Linked DNA regions of Homo sapiens: all the other regions are linked to region 3. The links are contacts of gene promoters, found by promoter capture Hi-C in human tissues and cell types (Jung and others, 2019). All regions are on one chromosome and are shown on one strand. The core of a region is centred on a gene start or on the middle of the fragment in contact, and the rest is flanking DNA. Distances in the headings are between cores, read along the strand shown. Region 1 overlaps SETX (senataxin). Region 2 overlaps SETX (senataxin). Region 3 holds the start of RAPGEF1 (Rap guanine nucleotide exchange factor 1). Region 4 overlaps SETX (senataxin). Region 5 overlaps SETX (senataxin). Region 6 has its middle 18 kb from the start of SETX. Region 7 overlaps NUP214 (nucleoporin 214).

What was found. Contacts are between HindIII fragments. The study calls those that stand out against the background at their distance.
Region 1: a fragment that was not itself captured here is called in contact with the fragment with the promoter of RAPGEF1 in region 3 in 2 of the 25 tissues and cell types used here (dorsolateral prefrontal cortex and lymphoblastoid cells).
Region 2: a fragment that was not itself captured here is called in contact with the fragment with the promoter of RAPGEF1 in region 3 in 1 of the 25 tissues and cell types used here (dorsolateral prefrontal cortex).
Region 4: a fragment that was not itself captured here is called in contact with the fragment with the promoter of RAPGEF1 in region 3 in 14 of the 25 tissues and cell types used here (H1 embryonic stem cells, IMR-90 fibroblasts, adrenal gland and 11 more).
Region 5: a fragment that was not itself captured here is called in contact with the fragment with the promoter of RAPGEF1 in region 3 in 1 of the 25 tissues and cell types used here (lymphoblastoid cells).
Region 6: a fragment that was not itself captured here is called in contact with the fragment with the promoter of RAPGEF1 in region 3 in 1 of the 25 tissues and cell types used here (spleen).
Region 7: a contact is called between a fragment that was not itself captured here and the fragment with the promoter of RAPGEF1 in region 3, in 2 of the 25 tissues and cell types used here (dorsolateral prefrontal cortex and spleen).

The regions. Positions count from the first base shown.
Region 1 is chr9:132,326,443-132,329,269 of GRCh38, forward strand. It overlaps SETX (senataxin), which reads right to left. Exons shown (of 26, transcript NM_015046.7): 10 at 1-2,827. Among named protein-coding and RNA genes, the nearest start is that of SETX, 27 kb to the right of the region's middle. The HindIII fragment of the contact is 3,756 bases long and covers 1-2,827 here.
Region 2 is chr9:132,302,031-132,305,028 of GRCh38, forward strand. All of the region lies in intron 11 of SETX (senataxin), which reads right to left. Among named protein-coding and RNA genes, the nearest start is that of SETX, 51 kb to the right of the region's middle. The HindIII fragment of the contact is 5,071 bases long and covers 1-2,998 here.
Region 3 is chr9:131,738,427-131,741,465 of GRCh38, forward strand. It overlaps RAPGEF1 (Rap guanine nucleotide exchange factor 1), which reads right to left and starts at 1,650. Exons shown (of 27, transcript NM_001377935.1): 1 at 1,344-1,650. The coding sequence starts at 1,404. RefSeq lists silencers at 1,034-1,363, 1,414-1,463, 1,614-1,873. The HindIII fragment of the contact is 28,094 bases long and covers 1-3,039 here.
Region 4 is chr9:132,264,226-132,267,075 of GRCh38, forward strand. SETX (senataxin) reads right to left here. Exons shown (of 26, transcript NM_015046.7): 26 at 1-760. The coding sequence ends at 14. Among named protein-coding and RNA genes, the nearest start is that of SETX, 89 kb to the right of the region's middle. The HindIII fragment of the contact is 6,889 bases long and covers 1-2,850 here.
Region 5 is chr9:132,283,654-132,286,523 of GRCh38, forward strand. It overlaps SETX (senataxin), which reads right to left. Exons shown (of 26, transcript NM_015046.7): 18 at 2,770-2,841. Among named protein-coding and RNA genes, the nearest start is that of SETX, 70 kb to the right of the region's middle. The HindIII fragment of the contact is 4,353 bases long and covers 1-2,870 here.
Region 6 is chr9:132,371,474-132,374,516 of GRCh38, forward strand. No RefSeq gene overlaps it. Among named protein-coding and RNA genes, the nearest start is that of SETX, 18 kb to the left of the region's middle. RefSeq lists an enhancer at 1,269-1,563. The HindIII fragment of the contact is 6,869 bases long and covers 1-3,043 here.
Region 7 is chr9:131,137,531-131,140,470 of GRCh38, forward strand. NUP214 (nucleoporin 214) reads left to right here. Exons shown (of 36, transcript NM_005085.4): 10 at 1,751-1,877. Among named protein-coding and RNA genes, the nearest start is that of NUP214, 13 kb to the left of the region's middle. The HindIII fragment of the contact is 6,143 bases long and covers 1-2,940 here.

The DNA of each region.
Region 1 (2,827 bases), core at 328-2,827, 590 kb after region 3:
ACTGACCAAAGTTCAAAAACATTTCATATTTCCATTTTAAGACCTCTTTAACGAAGGTGTCAGAGACAGACTGTGATGACAAAAGAATGTTTACTGGAGAGGAAGATGGAAAATATTTGCTTTCACCAAATGGAACTTTGCAACCTTGCCTGTTGGAATTATTCGGAGACTGAGGATGAAGAACATTGCACGAATTCTTCATTTCACCAACTGGCTTCTGAGCTATGAGGGGAACTGGCTGTGGTACTTTCAAAATCGACTGTATCCCCTTTGACTTATTTTTTAGAGACGGTGAAAGTGCTGAAGAAGTTTCCAAAGATTTAGAAAGACCAGCAATTCGTGAAGTACTCTTTGAGCTAAAAATCTTAGTGGTAGGTCTCAAAGGTTTAGATGCAGGAGGAGGCAAGCCAGGTTTACGAAATACATCTTCATCTGCTGCTTTCACTTCAGAGTGTTTTGGGCAGTATTCACCCTGGTTTTTTGTGGTTTCAAGACAATCTTTGTACTTACACTTTGTGCCACTCAAAGATTCCAACTGAGGCCGACTTACAGAATCTTCTTCAACCTCAACTGTATCTTTTCCATGAATTAGTTCAATGAGTTTATAATTGTCATTCTCCATTTGTGAACATAAATCCATATCTTCAGGATCATTTTGGGTTAAAAATAAGTTATCTTCCTCTGCATCACTGCTGGAGTCAGGCTCTCCTTCTTTCAAAGCTGCCATCTCTATATGACGTGCTGTTGGATCACCTCCACCCAGAGGGTCTTCTGAAGTGGAGACAATTACTTCATTTGTTGGTACTGTTCCATTTAACACTACAGAATCACACTGGTTCAAAGGGCAAGCATCATCAGTTGCTGGAGACCCATGTTTTGCTTTTATGGTTTCTGGTTCAGAAGGCATGCATTTTATTAACTGTTTTCTGTTACTGTTGGCAAGTACCTCAGTTCCTCCTGTACAATTATAATCTGACCTATCAGATTCTGGTACAAATATGTCAGAATTCTGTGCTGTATGTGACCCTGCTCTTTTAACATCTGTACTTTCACAATCAGAAAGTCTTCGTCTATTTTTTTGTGATTTGGGTCTGATCTGCCTTTGCATCTGAAGTTCTTGACTAGTCAGAAGTTTCTTATTATTTCTGACAGACAGGTTCTGAGGAGAAATTAATTTAGTCTTTTTTCGGGTATCAACTACTCCAACAGTTTTGCCATGATCACGTAATTGAGCTACATAATCCAAAGACCGCTGGGACAACTCATATGCCTTACGAGGACCCTTTTTCAGGCCAAGTTTCTCAGCTGTTGAAGTTGGCTCAGGACACTGACGAAATTTCTTTGGCGGCACTATAGCAGGAGTTGTTCTACAACTTAGGTAATTTGAACTTCTATTCTGTCCTTTTTTGGCATCTGAATGAGTTTTCTTAGGGGTCTTAGAAACTGGAACTTTCCTGATGGGTTCTGTACAAGTACAAAGCTTTGAAGACTTCTTTTGTGAAACCGTAGTGGCTCTCTGAATACGTGAATTGGGAGTTGAAGTCCTTCTATCAATACTTTTAAAATCATTTCCCACAAGATCTCTCTTATTAGTATCAGACTGGCCCTCATTTCTGACAGAAGATGAAGGCCTCACAGGATCTTCAGCCATTGGTTTTTCAGATCGTTTTCTCTTAGGCTTTTTTACTTCAATTTCACAAAATTCTTCAACAGAAATACTCCGTGGTCTTGTGTGTTCTTCAATGCCCTCTGCTCCTTTTTTAACAACTTCAGATACATAATCTGTACAACCCTGACCATTTGTAGTATTGGCTATAGGAGCCAAACATTTTTTCTCACCATCTTGAACTGAATTATTATCGTCTGGATGATCTTGCCAAACTGAAAACACTTCAGATGAACTTTCAAACTCAAAACACTGAGAATCAGATTCCTCAAACTGAAAAAGAGTCTCTGTCTTTTCTTCCTTTACTGGATTCTTTTCCTCCTTACTATTAACTGTTGAAACGTGCTGCTCTGGATGTTCCCTCTCAAGGCATATTTTGTCCTGTTTAGTGAGTTTCTCAAGACTCAGGATTCTTTCATCATCATCATCATCAGAATCTGAAATAATAATAACCTGTCCACGGGAGGTATCTCCAACATTATTTTGGTTAGCTGTGAAACATCTTTTATCTTCTTTTACTTTCCTTTGCAGCTGCGATGAGTTCTGAGGTGAATCGGATGGGAACGTAATAACACTGGCTTGAGCTAGTAAAGATAATTTGTGAAGGTCTCTGTCTATCTGAGAATCCGTTAAGGTGTCAGATTTAGGACTGATGTCAGGGGCCTGTTCTCTTGTCAAGTTAGAATAAATCACACTGGTACTATTACTCATCTCCTCATCTCTTGATTCAGGTACAGTCATAAGATCTTTAAAGGGAGATGATTTCTTCTCTGAAGCATTGGTCATTTCTGTAAAAGGGATCAATTCTTTACCATCAACATGAAATTCCTGTATTTTACAATTGTTTTCATGGAAAGAGAAAATAACTAATTCTTCATTCTTTAATTGTTTCTCTTTTGGCAATACATTGTTTTGAGATTTTTGTTCTCCATTCTTATCATCCAGAACACCACTAGGGTCTAAAGAAAGATTGTGTATGAAACCATCTCCTTTCTGAACTCCTGTATCTTTCCTTGAATAGAAACTCTCAATGTTAGATACAGTCAAATTTTCATCTAAATTGATAGTATTATCGACCAAAGTACTCTTCCTGTGTTGCTTCTTTATTACATGTGATAACTTTGCACAGATTTCATCTTTCTGTACCTTAGTTTTTCGTTT
Region 2 (2,998 bases), core at 147-2,646, 560 kb after region 3:
ATCTTTAGAGTCAAAGCAATCCTAGTAAAAATACCAGCAGATGGCCGCCAGGCACAGTGGCTCACGCCTGTAATCCCAGCACTCTGGGAGGCCAAGGCAGGTGGATCATGAGGTCAGGAGATCGAGAACATCCTGGCCAACACGGTGAAACCCCGTCTCTACTAAAAATACAAAAAATTAGCCGGGCATGGTGGCAGGCATCTGTAGTCCCAGCTACTCGGGAGGCCGAGGCAGGAGAATGACGTGAACCCAGGAGGCGGAGCTTGCAGTGAGCCGAGATCACACCACTGCACTCCAGCCTGGGTGACAGAGCAAGAATCCATCTCAAAAAAAAAAAAAAAAAAAAAGGCCAGGTGTGGTGGCTCACGCCTGTAATCCCAGCACTTTGGGAGGCCGAGACGGGCGGATCACCTGAGGTCAGGCGTTTGAGACCAGCCTGGCCAACATGGTGAAACCCCATCTCTACTAAAAATACAAAAATTAGCCAGGCGTCGTGGCAGGCGCCTGTAATCCCAGCTACTTGGGAGGCTGAGGCAGGAGAATCGCTTGAACCTGGGAGGTGGAGATTGCTGTGAGCCAAGATTGCGCCATTGCACTCCAGCCTGGGCAACAAGAGTGAGACTTTGTCTCAAAAAAAAAAAAAAAAAAAGCAAAAAAAAAAAAAAAAACCAGCAGGCATTTTTATAAATGTTGACAAGTTGATTCTAAAACTGATGACAATAAAAAGAAACTTTTTACAAAGAACAAAACTGAAAGGCTGACTATCCAATTTCAGTATTTTTTATAAAACAACAATAAGAGACTGTGGTATTGGTGGAAGGCAGCTATACAGATAAAGAAAACGGTGTTTAAAAGCAGACCTGCAATCAAGATCAACTGATATTCCGACAAATATGCCAAGTTATTGAATGGCAAGGTTATTCAATGAGAAAGGCTACATTTTTTTTAACAAGTAACACTAAAACTGAGCACCTATTTTTACATTGTTTTTGATTTATTTTTTTAGAGATTGGGTCTTGTTCTATCTCCCAGACTGGAATGCAGTGGTATGATCACAGCTCACTGCAGCCTTGAACACTTGGGCTCAAGAAATCCTCCTGCCTCAGCCTCCCATGTCACTGGGACTCTAGGTGTGTGCCACCATGCTCAGCTAATTTTTTTTTTTACTTTTCTGTAGAGACAGCGTCTTGCTATGTTGCCCAGACTGCTCTCAAACTCCTGGCCTGAAGTGATCTTCCTGTTTTGGCCTCCTAAAGTGCTGAGATTACAAGTATGAACCACTGCGTCTGACTTCTACCTTTAAAAAAGCAAAAAAAAAAAAAAAAACCCTTAATCCTTACATATGTCATATATAAAAATAAAATTGAAATGGTCATCAACATAAACACAAAAATTAAACCATAAAATTTAGAAAAAAAAAAATAGGAGAAAACTGTGACCGTGGGTTAGGTAAATGCTTCTTAGGATACAAAAAGCATTTTGATGGGATGCCATCAAAATCAAAACTTTTGCTCTTCAAAAGATACTGTTAGGAAAATTAAAAGGCATTCCACAGATTAGGAGTAAATATTTTCAATATATAAATATAATAAATAACTTGTCTCCAGAATATATAAAGAACTGAAAAATAAGGAAAAATAAGAGGACAAACAATCCAACTAAAAATGGAAGATACATGAAGGGGATATGTACATTGCCAGTAAGTCTGTGAAAAGATGCTCAACATTGTTAGCCATTCTAGAAAAGTAAATTAAAACCACAATGACATACTACTACACACCCGTCTGAATCACCAAAATTAAAAACACCACATGGGCGCAGTAGCTCACGTCTGTAATCCCAGCACTTTGGGAGGCCGAGGCGGGTGGTTCACCTGAGATCAGAAGTTCGAGACCAGCCTGCCCAACATGGTGAAACCCTGTTTCTACTAAAAATACAAAAATTAGTCAGGCATGGTGGGGCGCCTGTAAACCCAGCTACTTGGGAGGCTGAGGCAGGAGAATTGCTTGAACCCGGGAGGCGGAGGTTGCAGCCACTGCACTCCAGGCTGGGGCAACAGAGCAAGACTCCGTCTCAAAAAAAGAGAGCTCAGGAGCCTCAGCCAGCTCCAAATCTACCAGGAGAAGGGTAAGACGAGCTCAAGTGTGAAAACACTAATGCAGCACCCTGACAAAAATCAGAATACAGCATACAGCACAGGGTATTAATGGTCCATGGGGTTTGAACTGGCAGTACTTGAAACTCAAAGCTTCTGAGGGACAAGAGAAGAAGGGAGAAGTACCCTTTTATAACTGCATACTGTAGGTAGAACCAAAAGGGGAGAAAATTTAGGGTCCTGCAAGACCCTCAAAAGTGGAACAAACTCTGGACTTCACTACACTTGCAGAAAAGGGTGTCACTGAACTTGTAATTGTGTAAACCATCTCATTACCTCAGAAATAGAAATAAAATTAATAAATCCATATGTAAAGATTACAAAAAAAAAAAGAAAATGGAGATCCAACATACTAATGAAAATTCTCAGCCTGGGAGTTTGAGGCTGCAGTGAGCTGGGATTGCGCCACTGAACGTCAGCCTGGGCGACAGAACAAGACCCTGTTTCAAAAAAAAAAAAAAAGAAAGAAAGAAAAGAAAAAGAAAATTCTCCCCAAAACCACAACCGGGAAGGAAAAGAATACTGAATTAGGCTGGGCGCAGTGGCTCGCGCCTGTAATTTAGGCACTTTGTGGGGCCAAGGCAGGAGGATAACCTGAGGTCAGGAGTTCAAGACCAGCCTAGCCAAAATGGCAAATCCCCATCTCGATTAAAAATACAAACATTAGCCAGGCATGGTGGCACATGCCATAATCCCAGCTGCTTGGGAGGCTGAGGCAGGAGAATCGCTTGAAGCCAGGAGGCGGGATGCAGTGAGCTGAGATCACACCACTGCACTTCAGCCTGGGTAACAGAGTGAGACTCCATCTCAAAAAAAAAGAAAAAAAAGAATACTGAATTAAAC
Region 3 (3,039 bases), core at 400-2,899:
TCATGGTCACTCGGCAAGGCTGTGGGGGCTCAAATTCAGTGAGAAAAATACTCAAGAAATGGCACCTGAACCCAAGCGCCCTGCCCCTGAGAAAAGCACCCTGGCTTCTGGTCAGAGGGCCAGGAATGAATATACTAGGGGCCTGCCGCCCTCTTGCTGTCTGGACAGCCGGAACTCACTGAACCTCTCTGAGCCTGTAAAACTGGGACCATATTCTTTCCCACAGACTAGCTTCAAAAATTTAAGAAGCAATGCATTTTAGGTGCTAAGAGTTAGATATATAGTAAACCCTCAATAAAGCCTACAAAAATGTCCTTCTGTGCTTCAACCACAGCCTGCAAAAGTCATATTGCCTTGTGGGTCCGCTGCAGGGGTGCACCCCACAGAAGTATCCCAGATTCAACCCAGGAAACATAAGCAACTTCCACAATCAAAGCCACAGACCTCCTTTGCAGCTCCCTAAAAATCTGCTTTCCCTCATTCAGCCGCCAAGCTAACCTGCTACCGGGGTTATGACCACAGGGCATGCTCCCAGTACAGGAGCCCAGGAGCACCCGCCCACTTCACCTTAGACCCAAGAATTCGCATTTGCCCTGCAAGGTGCTGCAGGCTAATAAAGCCTGGGGCCCCACAGGCTCGACAGTCATTGAATCTTTGGAGACTCTATTTCCAGGACAGGCAAACCCAGGGACTCGGAAGGTAACTCCCCCAGATTTCTAGGAACACACAAAGAGACGAGGTCTGCATCAAGATTTACCATCTACTCCAACCCACCGGTCCCCCACCTGCCCTCCTTGCAGAGCTGAGCTTGATCGGGGTGGGGAGGGGAAACTTGACTACCTCCTCAAAATACCCCCACTCATCCAGCCTGCTTCCTTTGAAGCAACCGAAGTGGACGCTTCTCGTTAAACTCGAAGCTCGTTAGAAATGACACATTTTACAGCTCAGCTGGGTTCACCCTCCTAGCGCCGAGCCCAGGCCGGGCACCGATCGCTGCAGCCGCAGCAGCACGCGGCCCGGGCTGTTCTTCCCCTGCTTGGGGCTCGAGCCATTTTCGGAAGTTCCCGGGGACCGCGGAGCGGCTAGCGCGCCCGGCCCCGGGTTGCAGGGGCCCCGCCCGGCCCGGCCCCTGGCGCCCCCGCAGCGGCCGCTTCCCCCCGCGCCCGGCAGGCAATGGGCCTGGAGGAGAAGCTGCCAGGCGCCCCGGCGAGGCCTCGGTGGCTTCACCCCGCCCCGGCGCACGGAGGGCCGCACATCCCGGGCGACCCGCGCTCGGCCCGGGGAGCGGCGGAGCCCCAGGGCCGGGCCCGGCCGGAGGGAGCCGCCCCACGCCCGCGCCTCACCTGCTTTCTCGATCTTGCCGGACATTTCCGGGCTGCGCCGGAGGCCGAGGCCGCCGCTCATCGGGCCCGGGCCGGGCCGCCGCGGGGCGACAGGGGCGGCGCGCCCGCCGCTCGCCTCGGCCCTGGCTCGCCACGCCTCAGACCCGCGCCGGCATGGCGGGCTCCGCGCGGCCGCGGCCCTGCGCTCGGCGACCGCGCTCCAGCCCGCCCGGGCCCAGCCGCTCCCGCCGCGCCCGCCGCCGCCGCTCCGCCTCCCGCGCGCCCGCCGCCGCTCCCCCGGCCCGCGAGCCGGCCGCAGCGCAGCGACGCCGCCCGCCCGCCCGCCGGGCCTCGGCCGCGGCCACGGCCACAGCGCCACCTGCCGGGCGCCCGCCGCGCCGCCACAGCGCCCCCTGTGGGCCCGGAGCCGCCCGAGCCTCCCGCGCGACGCGCGAGACGCAGCGCCCCCTGCCGAGCCGGAGTCCCCACGCCGGGGCCTGGGGCCTGGGGTGTGGGGCCGACCCCGCCTGGGACTCCGCATTCCTCTGCTGTGGGACCAGAGTCACCAGCTCCAGACCTGGGACTGACAGCTCCAACCCAGGGTCCTCGGTTGCCCAAGAGCCTGGCCTGCCCCCTCACCAGAGACACAGAGAACCCTCCTGGGTCAGATTTTCCACCCCAGGACGTGGAACTGACGCCCACCCCACCCTAGCATCATCCCGGACCCAGCATCCCCTGTGGGCCAGAGGCTCCACACCAGGGCCTAGAACTCACTCTCACCAGGACTCAACAAGCTCTGCTGGCTGGGAGCCTGTCCTGACCTCCCCCAAACCAGAGATGCAGCACCCCCTTTTTTGTTTTGTTTTTTGTTTTTGAGACCGAGTCTCACTTTGTCGCCAGGCTGGAGAGCAGTGGCGCGATCTCGACTCACTGCAACCTCTGCCTGCCGGGTTCAAGCAATTCTCCTGCCTCAGCCTCCTGAGTAGCTGGGATTACAGGCACATGCCACCATGCCCAGCTAATTTTTGTATTTTTAGTAGAAACGGGGTTTCGCCATGTTGGCCAGGCTGGTCTCGATCTTCTGACCTCATGATCCACCCACCTTGGCCTCCCAAAGTGCTGGGATTACAGGTGTGAACCACTGCACCCTGCCCGCACCCCCTTCTTAATTGGAGACCCCACACCAGGGCCTGGGAGTGGCCTCATAGCACCTCCTGCCAGCCCAGAGGCTCCAGCCGGGGAATGAGTCCACTCTGGCATGAAAGCCCTCTGCTGGCCCAAGGTCTATGCCAAGGCGGAGGATTCATTCTCCACCCCAGCCCTGCATGTGGGACTCAGTCACCCTGCCAGCGAGAGCCACCTGTCCCGGGCTGGGGTTGGCCCTACTCAGGCCTAAATGTCCCCTGAGGCCTAGAGCCTCCATGCTGGCCTGGGCCCAACTCCCTCAGGGACACAGCACACCCTGCCTGCCCTGCTTATTTGACATCCAGAAGGGCACCCTGGGGCTCAGCTGTGGAACTTTTCTAGTGTGGAAATGAGTTCATTAAAAGTCGTGGCTGGGCACGGTGGCTCACGCCTGTAATCCCAGCACTTTGGGAGGCCGAGGCAGGTGGATCACGAGGTCAAGAGATTGAGACCATCCTGGCCAACATGGTGAAACCCCATCTCTACTAAAAATACAAAAATTAGGTGGGCATGGTGGCACACGCCTGTAGTC
Region 4 (2,850 bases), core at 40-2,539, 530 kb after region 3:
TCACTGGGCTTTCCTATAAAAGCTTTCTTTTCTTGGAACTGCTGTCCTCCTGCTCCAGTGTCCTCTTGTCCCACCTAGAGTTCCTCCTGGTGTGATGGGTCTCGGAACCACACTTCTCCTGCTCCCCTTCACTGAAAGCCCTGGCCTCTCTCCTGTGACAGAGCTCCTCTTCCGGGTCATCACATTTGCTCTGACACGTGGAAGCCTCGGGACTGGCAGCTGGAGGTTCGCCCCGCACGGGAGGTTTGTGGCTGCTCAGAGCAGCCACTACAGCAGCGGGCTGCTGTATATGGCTCAGGTCCTGGTGAACGACAGGGAAGCCCGGCTCGCCCGTAGGAGGTGTTGCTCCAGGATGCTGGGGGCTCGAGGGTTGTGGATCCCAAAGGAATATTCCTCCTTTGACCTCAATGCCCATCCTCTTCAGCAGTCGTGGGTCCTGAAGTTGGTCATGAACAGGAGGTCTTTCAGGGTCCTTTGAAGTAACAGTAAGAGTAATTTCCTTGGAGTCAGAGGGTGTGTGGTATAGAGAAGCAGCAACAGATGTCTTGGCAAATCCACTGTCTAGCTTGCTGCTGGGCAAACCACCCTGGGGTCTGGACCCCTCTGGGGCTATGGTAGGAGGGTGAGTGAGACTTCTCTGCAGCACAGGCTTGAGTTTCAGAATCTTCACTGCATCATGTCTATAGTTTTTGTCACAGGTCTTAATAATGGCACCACGCTTCTGAGCATCCTGAATCAGCTGATTCCAATGCTGGTTTTCCTTGAAACAATGAGAAGGGAGAAATAATTACACCCCAAAGAGACACTGCTTGGGAAGCATAGAGTTCCAGCTTTCATTTCTGAACAAATAATACATATTATTGTATGAACATATTCTCAAGATTCATTACTCGTCAGACAAGGATGAAAGGAAAAAATAAATTCAAATAAAAAATGATAAAGTCCCATTCCTAAAAATAAGACCTGGTCACAACCTATAATGGAGAACTTCAACTTTTGTTTTTTTTTTTTTTTTTTTTGAGACAGAGACTCACTCTGTTGCCAGGCTGGAGTGCAGTGGCGCGATCTTGGCTCACTGCAACCTCCACCTCCCGGGTTCACGCCATTCTCCTGCCTCAACCTCCCGAGTAGCTGGGACTACAGGCACCCGCCACCACGCCCGGCTAATTTTTTGTATTTTTAGTAGAGACGGGGTTTCATCATGTTAGCCAAGATGGTCTCGATCTCCTGACCTCATGATCCGCCCGCCTCAGCTCCCAAAGTGCTGGGATTACAGGCAGGAGCCACCGTGCCTGGCCGAACTTCAGCCATTTTTATCAGTGCATTCAACTGCAACGCAGGTCTGCACTAGTCACTAGGAGCATCATGTTGCTATTTATATTTCAATAAATTAAAATAAAAAATTCTGTTCCTAAATTGCATCAGCCACATTTCAAGTACACAGCGGTCACACACGACTAATGGCTATTGTACTGAGCAGTGCAGACACAAAACATTTCCGTTATCACAGAAAGGTCCTTTGGACATTGGTGATCTAGAGTACTGCCTACACCTCTTGGCAGGGCTAACGTTCTGAAACAGGAAGGTCTGGTTTCAGAAAGCAAACTTCTGAGTGCATGTGACTATTCTAGAAAAAGGCCCAAGGCTTTCACTGGATTTCTAAAGGCCTCCCAAACCCCGAATGGCTAAAACATCTTCATCCACCGAGATCTCAAGATATCATCTCACTTTCTGCCTGTTTCCTACAGGAGCTTAAGATATTAAATCCCATCGGGAAAGTTGCCAAACACATGCACCTCTCCTCTCTTCCCGAGTTTCTTCAGAGGAGGCTGCTGCTTTACAACCACTAGAATTCGGGTCTCTTTAGAAAGAAGAAAGAAAAGAAGAAAAAGGATAGCTACCCTCTCATGGGGGCTCCTGTACTGTTCATAAAGGTATGTTAGGGAAGCAGTGAGGCTGCACAGTATTTACTTGCTGTGTGACCTTGGTCAAGTCACTTGACCTCTCTGAGCCTGTTTCCTCATCTGTAAAATAGGAGTAATATTTTATTTAATGGATTCTAAAGTGCACGTTGCTTTCACATTTTAGCATTTCTGACCTTGGGGAGCCTCTTGGCCATGTACCTATCCTTGGAAATTACATGATGAGGCAATTATAACCCTTAGACTTTTAGTCAATAAACCATTTAAAAATAATGCCTGAAAACCTTCTACAGACATTTTCTGATAAGACAAGATAACACCAGCATTAAAACTTATGCACTGGGCCAGGTGCAGTGGCTCATGCCTGTAATCCTAACACTTTGGGAGGCTGAGGCGGGCGGATCACCTGAGGTCAGAGGTTCAAGACGAGCCTGGGCAACATGGTGAAACCCCGTCTCTACTAAAAATACAAAAATTAGCCAAGTGTAGTGGTGCACAGCTATAATCCCAGGTACTTGAGATGCTAAGGCATGAGAATCGCCTGAACCCAGGAGGCGGACGTTGCAGTGAGCTGAGATTGTGCCACTGCACTCCAGCCTGGGCAACAAGGTGAGGCTCTGTCTCAAAAAAAAACCCCCAAAAAAACCTTATACACTGGAGATAAAGGGTTCTAAGAAATCCTGGAGACAATGGTGTAACTCTTAGCAAATGCTAAATTGCCAACCTTATTATTGCACTTGGGATGAATGACAACACTGATGACTATGGATTGGGAAGTGATTCATTCGTGCTAAATTCTGAAAGTGAAATATTTTTAGGAATATCTTAACCTATTATTTTACTTGTATTTTCTATGTATGGATAAGAATATGGTAAAAATCTGTCTAAAGTCTTAAGAGTCCTTTCAATAAATATGAAAGTTCTAAGT
Region 5 (2,870 bases), core at 49-2,548, 540 kb after region 3:
AATTTTTATCCAGGGTTTGATTTGGTCAAAGTAGATTACAATCCTTCCTGTAGTCAGATATATGTAGGTAGGTATCTGAAGTAGAGATGTAATAATTCTGAGTTGTGAATTATATGAGTAAAACCAGGGGTGGAATTCAGCCTGAATGTACATTTTTCTGTTAGTTTTTAAGTATATAATATTGCCCTGTCTTTTTTTAGTGCTTTTGCTAGTACTAACAAAAATGCCTGTGAACCTGACAAATCCTCTATTTCCACAGTAAGGAACAGTCTGGTCTCCCTCTCTAACGCAGTGTGCTGTGATGGAGCCGGACGTGAGTGACGCCTCACAGTCACACCTACACTGCTCAGTCAATCAGCATTTCCAGCAGAGATTCAGTTTGCTGCTTTTTGCTACTAAGAAGTAGTGGTGATTCATCTCAGCACATACGATATATTCAACCATGGAATTCAAGGCATTCGTGTGAGCTTTAGGAAGAGGGTGGCACTGTGGTCCTCCACGGCTCACACAGTAAAGCACTGTCAGACACTGTCCTCAGCCACCTAGTGAGTACAACTGCTGAGCATAGTTTCATGGCCCACAGAACACATGTGATGAGCAGCAAAAAACATCTGTGAAGATGGACTTCATCCTTGACTCAGGAAAGATTAATCTGGGGTTCTGTTTAAAATCTGATTAAAATCTGTTTAATCAAAAGCTTTCACATAACTTTTAGTTTAAATAAACTGCTAATGAAAATATGCATTAAATTCAACTATATTTTAGTCACATAGAGAAAGATCATAATCCATTCAGGAGGAAACTTCAGCAAAAATACTACTAACGTCATCAGTTACTATTACCCTCTTTCCCTGACCCCAGTGTGGTTTGATTAGGGCTGCATTCTGACAATCAGGGTATACACCTGGCTCGGCCAAGCTTCAATGAGTCTAAATCTTACAGGATATTTTCACATCCAAAAAATACTGGAGAAAAGCTACAAAATGTTACAGGAGTCTTATGATCCAACACAAGTACAGGGAGTTTATGCTCTAACCCAAGAATTGCAAAAAACAAAAACCAAATATCAAAGTGCTGTACTTTCTTTTGCCGAATTCTGCCCACCATCACTCTACTTCTATCCAGGTTGGAGCTCTGGAGGGCTCACAGTTGCCACCCTCATCCTAAAGCTCATACAGGTGACTTTTTTTTTTTAATAGTGAAAACACCCACAAAGCTATTTTTTTTGTTGTTTTTTTTTTTTGAGACGGAGTCTCGCTCTGTCACCCAGGCTGGAGTGCAGTGGCGCGATCTCCACTCACTGCAAGCTCTGCCTCCCAGGTTCACGCCATTCTCCTGCCTCAGGCTCCCGAGTAGGTGGGATTACAGGTGCCCACCACCACGCCCAGCTAATTTTTTGTATTTTATTAGAGACGGGGTTTCACTGTGTTAGCCAGGATGGTCTCAATCTCCTGACCTCGTGATCCGCCCGCCTCGGCCTCCCAAAGTGCTGGGAGTACAGGCGTGAGCCACCGCGCCTGGCCAAAGCTATTTTCATTAACTGTTTATCTGATGATAATTATCATAATTGTTTTTTGCAGTTTATGGGAAGCAGAAATAGAGCACCTTATAAGAAAGAATTTAAATATTTACCAGACTTAAAACAAAAAAGATAACTTATAACCACCTCTTAGAAATCTTAGATGGTGGTAAGAATTCATTCTTAGGTTAAAGAAAAAAATGCAAATGTTGTTACACCATTTTCTCCACTTCCACAGATGTTTGTAATTTTTCATAACAATTTAAAATGTAACTGAGAAAAGCCCATAGCTGGCCAGGCATGGTGGCTCACGCCTGTAATGCCAACACTTTGGGAGGCCGAGACGGGGGATGACTTGAGGTTGGACGTTCCAGACCAGCATGGCCAACATGGTGAAACCCCATCTCTATTAAAAATACAAAAAAAGGGCCAGGCATGGTGGCTCACGCCTGTAATCCCAGCACTTAGGGAGGCCGAGGTGGGCGGATCACAACGTCATGAGATGGAGACCATCCTGGCCAACATGGTGAAACCCCATCTCTACTAAAAATACAAAATTTAGTCGGGCGTGGTGGCGCACACCTGTAGTCCCAGCTACTCGGGAGGCTGAGGCAGGAGAATCACTTGAACCTGGGAGGCAGAGGTTGCAGTGAGCTGAGATTGTGCCACTGCACTCCAGCCTGGCAACAGAGTGAGACTCTGTCTCAAAAAAAAAAAAACACAAAAGAGGCCAGGTGTGGTGCCTCACGCCTGTAATCCCAGCACTTTGAGGGAGGCTGAGGCAGGAGGATCATGACGTCAAGAGATCCAGACCATCCTGGCCAACACGGTGAAACCCCGTCTCTACTAACAATGCAAAAATTAGCTGGGCGTGGTGGCACACGCCTGTAATCCTAGCTACTCGGGAGGCTGAGGCAGGAGAATCGCTTGAACCCGGGAGGCAGAGGTTGCAGTGAGCCAAGATCACGCCACTATACTCCAGTCTGGTGACAGAGCAAGACTTCACCTCAAAAAAAAAAAAAAAAAAAAATTAGCCAGGCATGGTGGTGCACGCCTGTAATCCCAGCCACATGGGAGACTGAGGTTGCAGTGAGCTGAGATCATGCCACTGCACCCCAGCCTGAGAGACAGAGTGAGACTCTGTCTCCAAAATAAATAAATAAAAGCCCATAGCTTGTCTGAACAGTCATACTTAAATTTTAAAAAGAAAAAAAAAAAAATCAAGAAAATGCTACAGGTGAACTACTTACCTCTTTAATTTTAGAAGCAAGTTCCTGCCTTTCCTTAGAAACTTTGGAAATGTTTTCATCTAATTCTTGCCTCTGGAAAAAAATTCAAATGTCACAATTAA
Region 6 (3,043 bases), core at 459-2,958, 630 kb after region 3:
TGAGGTCGGGAGTTCGAGACCAGCCTGACCAACATGCAGAAACCCCGTCTCTACTAAAAATACAGAATTAGGCAGGTGTGGTGGCACATGCCTGTAATCCCAGCTACTTGAGAGGCTGAGGCAGGAGAATTGCTTGAACCCGGGAGGAGGAAGTTGCGGTGAGCCAAGATCACATCATTGCGCTCTAGCCCAGGCAACAAGAGCAAAACTCCATCTAAAAAGAAAGAAAGAAAGAAAGAAAGTTATTTGTAATATAATAGATTTCAGGTGTAATACCTGAGTGGAGATAGTGAGTAGGCAGATGAATTTTTTTATCCTGGAGTTCGGGGGAGAATCTGACCTGTAACTATACACTTGGGAGGAGGGATCAGCATATACACATTATTTCAAGGCATGGAGAGAATGTGAAGAAGCCCAAAATTGAGCTCTGAGGAACACTAACTTTTCAATGTTGAGTGCAGCGGGAGGAGTGTAGCAGAAACTAATTGAGTCCATATATATATACATATATACACACATATTTTAAATTAAGATGAGTTACACTAGAGCCTGTTTGTATGGTGTTAATGGTCCAGAACAGAAGGCTGACAATTTAGGAGAAGGATCAACAAAATATCAAAATCTCAGAAAATGCAGGTGGTAGCCAGGCACTCACACCTTGTAATCTCAACACTGGGAGGCAGAGGTGGGAGGATCACTTGAGCCCGGGAGTTCAAGACCAGCCTGGGCAACATACGGAGACCATGTCGCTACACAAAAATAAAAAATAAAAATTAGCTGGTGTGGTAGCACATGCCTGCTGTTGTCCCAGCTACATGGGAGGCTGAGGTGGGAGGATTGCTTGAGGCCGGGAGGTCAAAGTTGCAATCAGTCGTGATGGTGCACTCCAGCCTGGGCAACACAGTGAGACCCTGTCTCTTTAAAAAAAAAAGGAAAAAAAAAGCAGGGGGATGGGCTGCAGGAGCTTAGGTGTAGGGATCGGCGTAAGTGTGGCTGGAGGTAGGTTTGTCTGCTTGGTGGAGGGAGGAGGGAGCTTATGTCTTATGGCTTCACTTTCCTAAGTGGATTATACATGAGGCAGAAAGGGAGTGTGAGAGGGCTGACTGTGCACGTGAGCTGATGTGGGGAAAAGCAAAGCAAGCCTACTAGAGATTCAGAGTAGCATCCTTTGGTAACATTGTGTCCGTTTGAGCTTTATCATCATTAAAGTGAAATCTGCCAGCTCAGTTGTAATTTTCTTCTGGGAATATTCAGCTCTTCAGGTGCAGGTAACAGGCAAAGGGAAGGGCTCACCCAGATCTGGTGTCTTAAACAGGGAAGTGCCTCAGGGGGAGAGAATGCCAGGATGGAGGGTGTTCAGGAAGGTGATTGTGGCAAGGGACCATGTGACAGCCTGGGTAAGCTGGGAGTGACCTGATAGCACCGAGGGAGGCTGAGAATGCCTGCTCATGTATTTCAGGAAATAAACAGGAAATGGTGTTCAGGAAGTGCTGGACTGTGTAGCCTCCAAGAAAGCAGGCCCCAAGGCTGTACTGTCAATGCTTGTTTTTTGTTTTTTTTTTTTTGAGACGGAGTCTCTGCCGCCCAGGCTGGAGTGCAGTGGCGGTATCTCGGCTCACTGCAACCTCTGCCTCCTGGGTTCAAGTGATTCTCCTGCCTCAGCCTCCCGAGTAGCTGGGATTACAGGCACGCACCACCAGGCCCAGCTAATTTTTGTATTTTTAGTAGAGATGGGGTTTCACCATGTTGGTCAGGCTCGTCTCGAACTCTTGACCTCCCGATCCTCCCGCCTCGGCCTCCCAAAGTGCTGGGATTACAGGCGTAAGCCACTGTGCCTGGCCTGTCAATGCTTGTCTTTTTAGCTCCTAACAGTACCTGGCTCACTGCACGTGTTCACCAATGTTTGTTGAGCTGCACTTGTCAAAGTGAAGGTGGTGCTATGAAGTCAGTGGATGTCTTGGTCTGGCTAAGATGCTAATTTCTGACCTACTTGGTATCTGCCATGCTGGGCCACTTTGTTGGGTAATGAAGTCCATCAGTGAAGACAAACAGCTGAAACACATGACTAGGGACAAGGACAAAATGACCAAGAACTGAGCCAAGAACTCGAATAATGCATAGTCAAGGCTGTTTAAAAACAATTTTATGGGCCAGGTGCTGTGGCTCACGCCTGTAATCCCAGCTACTCTCAGGAGGCTGAGGCAGGAGAATTGCTTGAACCCGGGAGGCGGAGGTTGTAGTGAGCCGAGATCACACCACTGCACTCCCGCCTGGGTGACAGAGACTCTGTCTCCAAAAAACAAACAAAAACAAAACCAATTGTACATGTTCCACAGCCTTAGTTCTTGTGAGGTGGGTATTGTCTTTCTCTTTTTACCTTTGTTCGCTTTCTGAGTCACTTTCTTTAGTAAAAGGTGAGATTTATAGGATCTGAAACCAGAACATTGACTCACTTTTTTTTTGAGACAGTCTCACTCTGTCGCCAGGCTGGAGTGCAGTGGCGTGATCTCGGCTCACTGGAACCTCCGCCTCCCAGGTTCAAGTTATTTTCCCACCTCAGCCTCCTGGGCAGCTGAGACTACAGGCGCAGACCACCACACCCGGCTAATTTTTGGTAGAGATGGGTTTTCACTATGTTGGCCAGGCTGGTCTCGAACTCCTGGCCTTGAGTGATCCACCCACCTCAGCCTCCCAAAGTGCTGGGATTACAGGCATAAGCCACCATTGCCCAGCCTCTGTTAATTTTTTTTTTTTTTTTTTGACACAGGGTCTCTGTCACCCAGGCTGGAGTGCAGTGGTGTGATCTCAGCTCACTGCAACCTCTGCCTCCCAGGTTCAAGCGATTCTCTTACCTCAGCCTCTCAAGTAGCTGGAATTACAGACACACGCCACCATGCCCAGCTAATTTTTTTTTGTTTGTTTTTTTTTTTTGGTAGGGATGGAGTTTCATCATGTTGGCCAGGCTGGTCTCAAACTCCTGACCTCAAGTCATCCGCCTGCCTTGGCCTCACAAAGTGCTAGGATTACAGGTGTGAGCCACTAT
Region 7 (2,940 bases), core at 291-2,790, 600 kb before region 3:
TACCCTCATTTCTGGTGGTATCTTTTTTTTTTTTTTTTTTTTTTTGAGGCCAAGTCTCACTTTGTCACCCAGTGCATTGGCGCCATCTTGGCTCACTGCAACCTCCGCCTCCCTGGTTCAAGCGATTCTCATGCCTCAGCCTCCTAGTAGCTGGGACTGTAGGCATGCGCCAACACGCCTGGCTAATTTTTGTATTTTTTAGTAGAGACAGGTTTTTGCCTTGTTGGCCAGGCTGGTCTCAAACTCCTGACCTCAGGTGATCCGCCCGCCTCAGCCTCCCAAAGTGCTGGGATTACAGGCATGAGCCACAGCTCCCGGTCTGGTGATAACTCTTGATCTTCCACTTTGTGAGAGGAATGTCTTAGCACTCCCACCCTTTCCCTTGGTAGCCTTCCAGTTGTTATCTGCGTCTTCTCTTTTGTAAAATTGCATTCTGTCCTACAATGATAAGTCATCTTTATCTTGTCTGTAGACTGTTTTTAAAAGTTGAGATTGTTTTTGTTTAATATGAACGTGTCTGTTACCTGCTCCATAGCTAAGTCACATAGTGTGATTTCATTCCCTCTCCTGAACTGCCTGCCTGCTTGCTTTCTTGCTTGCTTTCTCTCTCTCTCTCTTTTTTCTTCTTCCTTCCTTCCTTCTCTTTCCTTCTCCTTCCTTTTCCTTCCTTTCCCTCCACTCCCCTCTCCTCCCCTCCGCTCTCCTCCCCTCCCCTCCCCTCCCCATAACCTAGGCCAGAGTGCAGTGGTATGATCTCGGCTCACTGCAACCTCTGCTTTCCGGGTTCAAGTGATTATCCTGCCTCAGCCTCCCAAGTAGCTGGGACCACAGTTGCACACCAACACGCCCAGCTAATTTTGTATTTCTGGTAGAGACGGGATTTCACCATGTTGACCAGGCTGGTTTCAAACTCCTGACCCCAGGTGATCCACCTGCCTCAGCCTCCCAAAGTGCTGGGATTACAGGCATGAACCACTACATCCAGCCTGTTTTTCTTTGTTGGTCTTTAAGCACTATTCCCCTGTGATTCATGCTTCCCAGTCTGGTCAACACTGAAAGTTAGGCAAAATGTTAGTGATTTTAAAAACCAAGAGTCATTTGTTGGAAGGAACAGAGCCTATCCAAGCACACTTAAGCAAAAAGGGAGTTTACTAGAAAGACTTAGTAGTTTCTCAAGGAATCTGGGGACAGGAAAGCTGACCAGCCTGAGGAACTGGTACCAAGAACTGGGAAGAAGAACTAAGGTTATCTCTGTCTCTATAGACGAGTGAGCGCAGGGCATCTGAGCACAGACCAGCCTTACATGCTTCTCTGTGAAAGACTGCAGTAGAGATCAGCTGGAGTTCCTGGCCCCAATCCAAAATGTCTAGGAGCAGGTATTGACTGGCTTAGTGCTGCTGTTGGATTTGTCCCTCATGGTCAGCAATCTCCCTAGTTGTCATGGAAGGTACCTCAGAAAATGTTCATGATAGTGGTTATTTATTTACAAGGCAGAGGCTTGATACACCAGGAACAGATAGAGAGGGGGTTGATTTGGAAAATTAACTTCCCATTTGCTGGGGTACTTCTGGCTTTTAGGCCATCTTCTCAGATTTCAGAGCCTCCTAGTCAACACCTGAGTCTAAACCAAGTGAGTCATCTCTGTTCTCCTATTTGAACAATGTTAGGAGGAACCAATGCAAAGCTCTAACCAACATGGCTTTTTCTTTTTTCTTCTTCTTCTTCTTTTTTTTTTTTTTTTTTTTTTTAGATTAATTGGGAATCTTGGCTACTGGAGGATTCTAGTCGAGCTGAATTGCCTGTGACAGACAAGAGTGATGACTCCTTGCCCATGGGAGTTGTCGTAGACTATACAAACCAAGTGGAAATCACCATCAGTAAGTGTAGCCTGGTAGTTAGTGCAGAAATAGTCTTCTTTCTAGTTAGGGTTAATATTGAAACACCAGTTACATGTTACTGACAGAGTCTACTCTGCTGGGCACTTGTAGCTTCTGGCAGCACATTTCTCCCTGAAGAGTGATAACAGGCTGCGTTGTGACAACACTAAACTGATTTGAATGGATGTTCGTTGATGAGACCAAGGCCAAACACTGTATGTATGTGTGGGTGCATGTTTGCACACTTGCACATGTCTGGGTGTACTTTAGAATCTGGTTGAAATATAGAACATCAGGATTTTATGGCTTGGTTTCTTTGTCCAATCCAATTCCCTGGTGACCTCCCAAAGAAGCAATACCCGAATCTGGTACTGCACACAAGTACTTGGTTTGAAGGCAAGGATTAGAAAATAGAGACCTCAGGCCCATGGTTTCCAAATAGGGCCTAGATATGTGTTTTGAATAGATCTTCCCTGCAGTAGCTTGGCTATACTGTAGTCATTGAAATGTAAAAGTGCCACAAAAGAAACAGTCTTTGCCATCTGGTACTTAAGTTTAGAGAGGTGTCCCCGTCAGGCACCATTAAGTTGCTTGCTCCTTCCCTGGTTAGGCAGGAGTATTTGTTCTGATAAGCTCATTTGCTCTGATTCTCTTGAAGCCTTAACTGATAAAATACATACTTGTCATTCAGCTGTGAATGAGGATAAAGTGGTTTGACTCATCTTTCTGTGTCCTACTGTCCATTCCAAAGAGTCTAGTCTCATTTTCCTACTAACCTAAGTACTTCTTAGATATTCTTCTCTTGGTCAGGGGAATGCCAAGCCTACCTCCACTGAGGTACACAAGCCACTGAGACACTCATAAAAACTGAGGGACCTTTGGGAGAGTCAGAGCTACTGCGGGACTGATGGAGCTTCTAGGCAGGGCCCAGCAGGGTGGTGGCGATCTGATAGCGGCAGGAACTCTCTTTAAATAGCTGGTGCACGAAAGGCTGTTCAGATATAAAATCAGAACAAACTAACTTGAGCTGCTATTCAGATGAGTCCCTTAAACCCTCTTCATG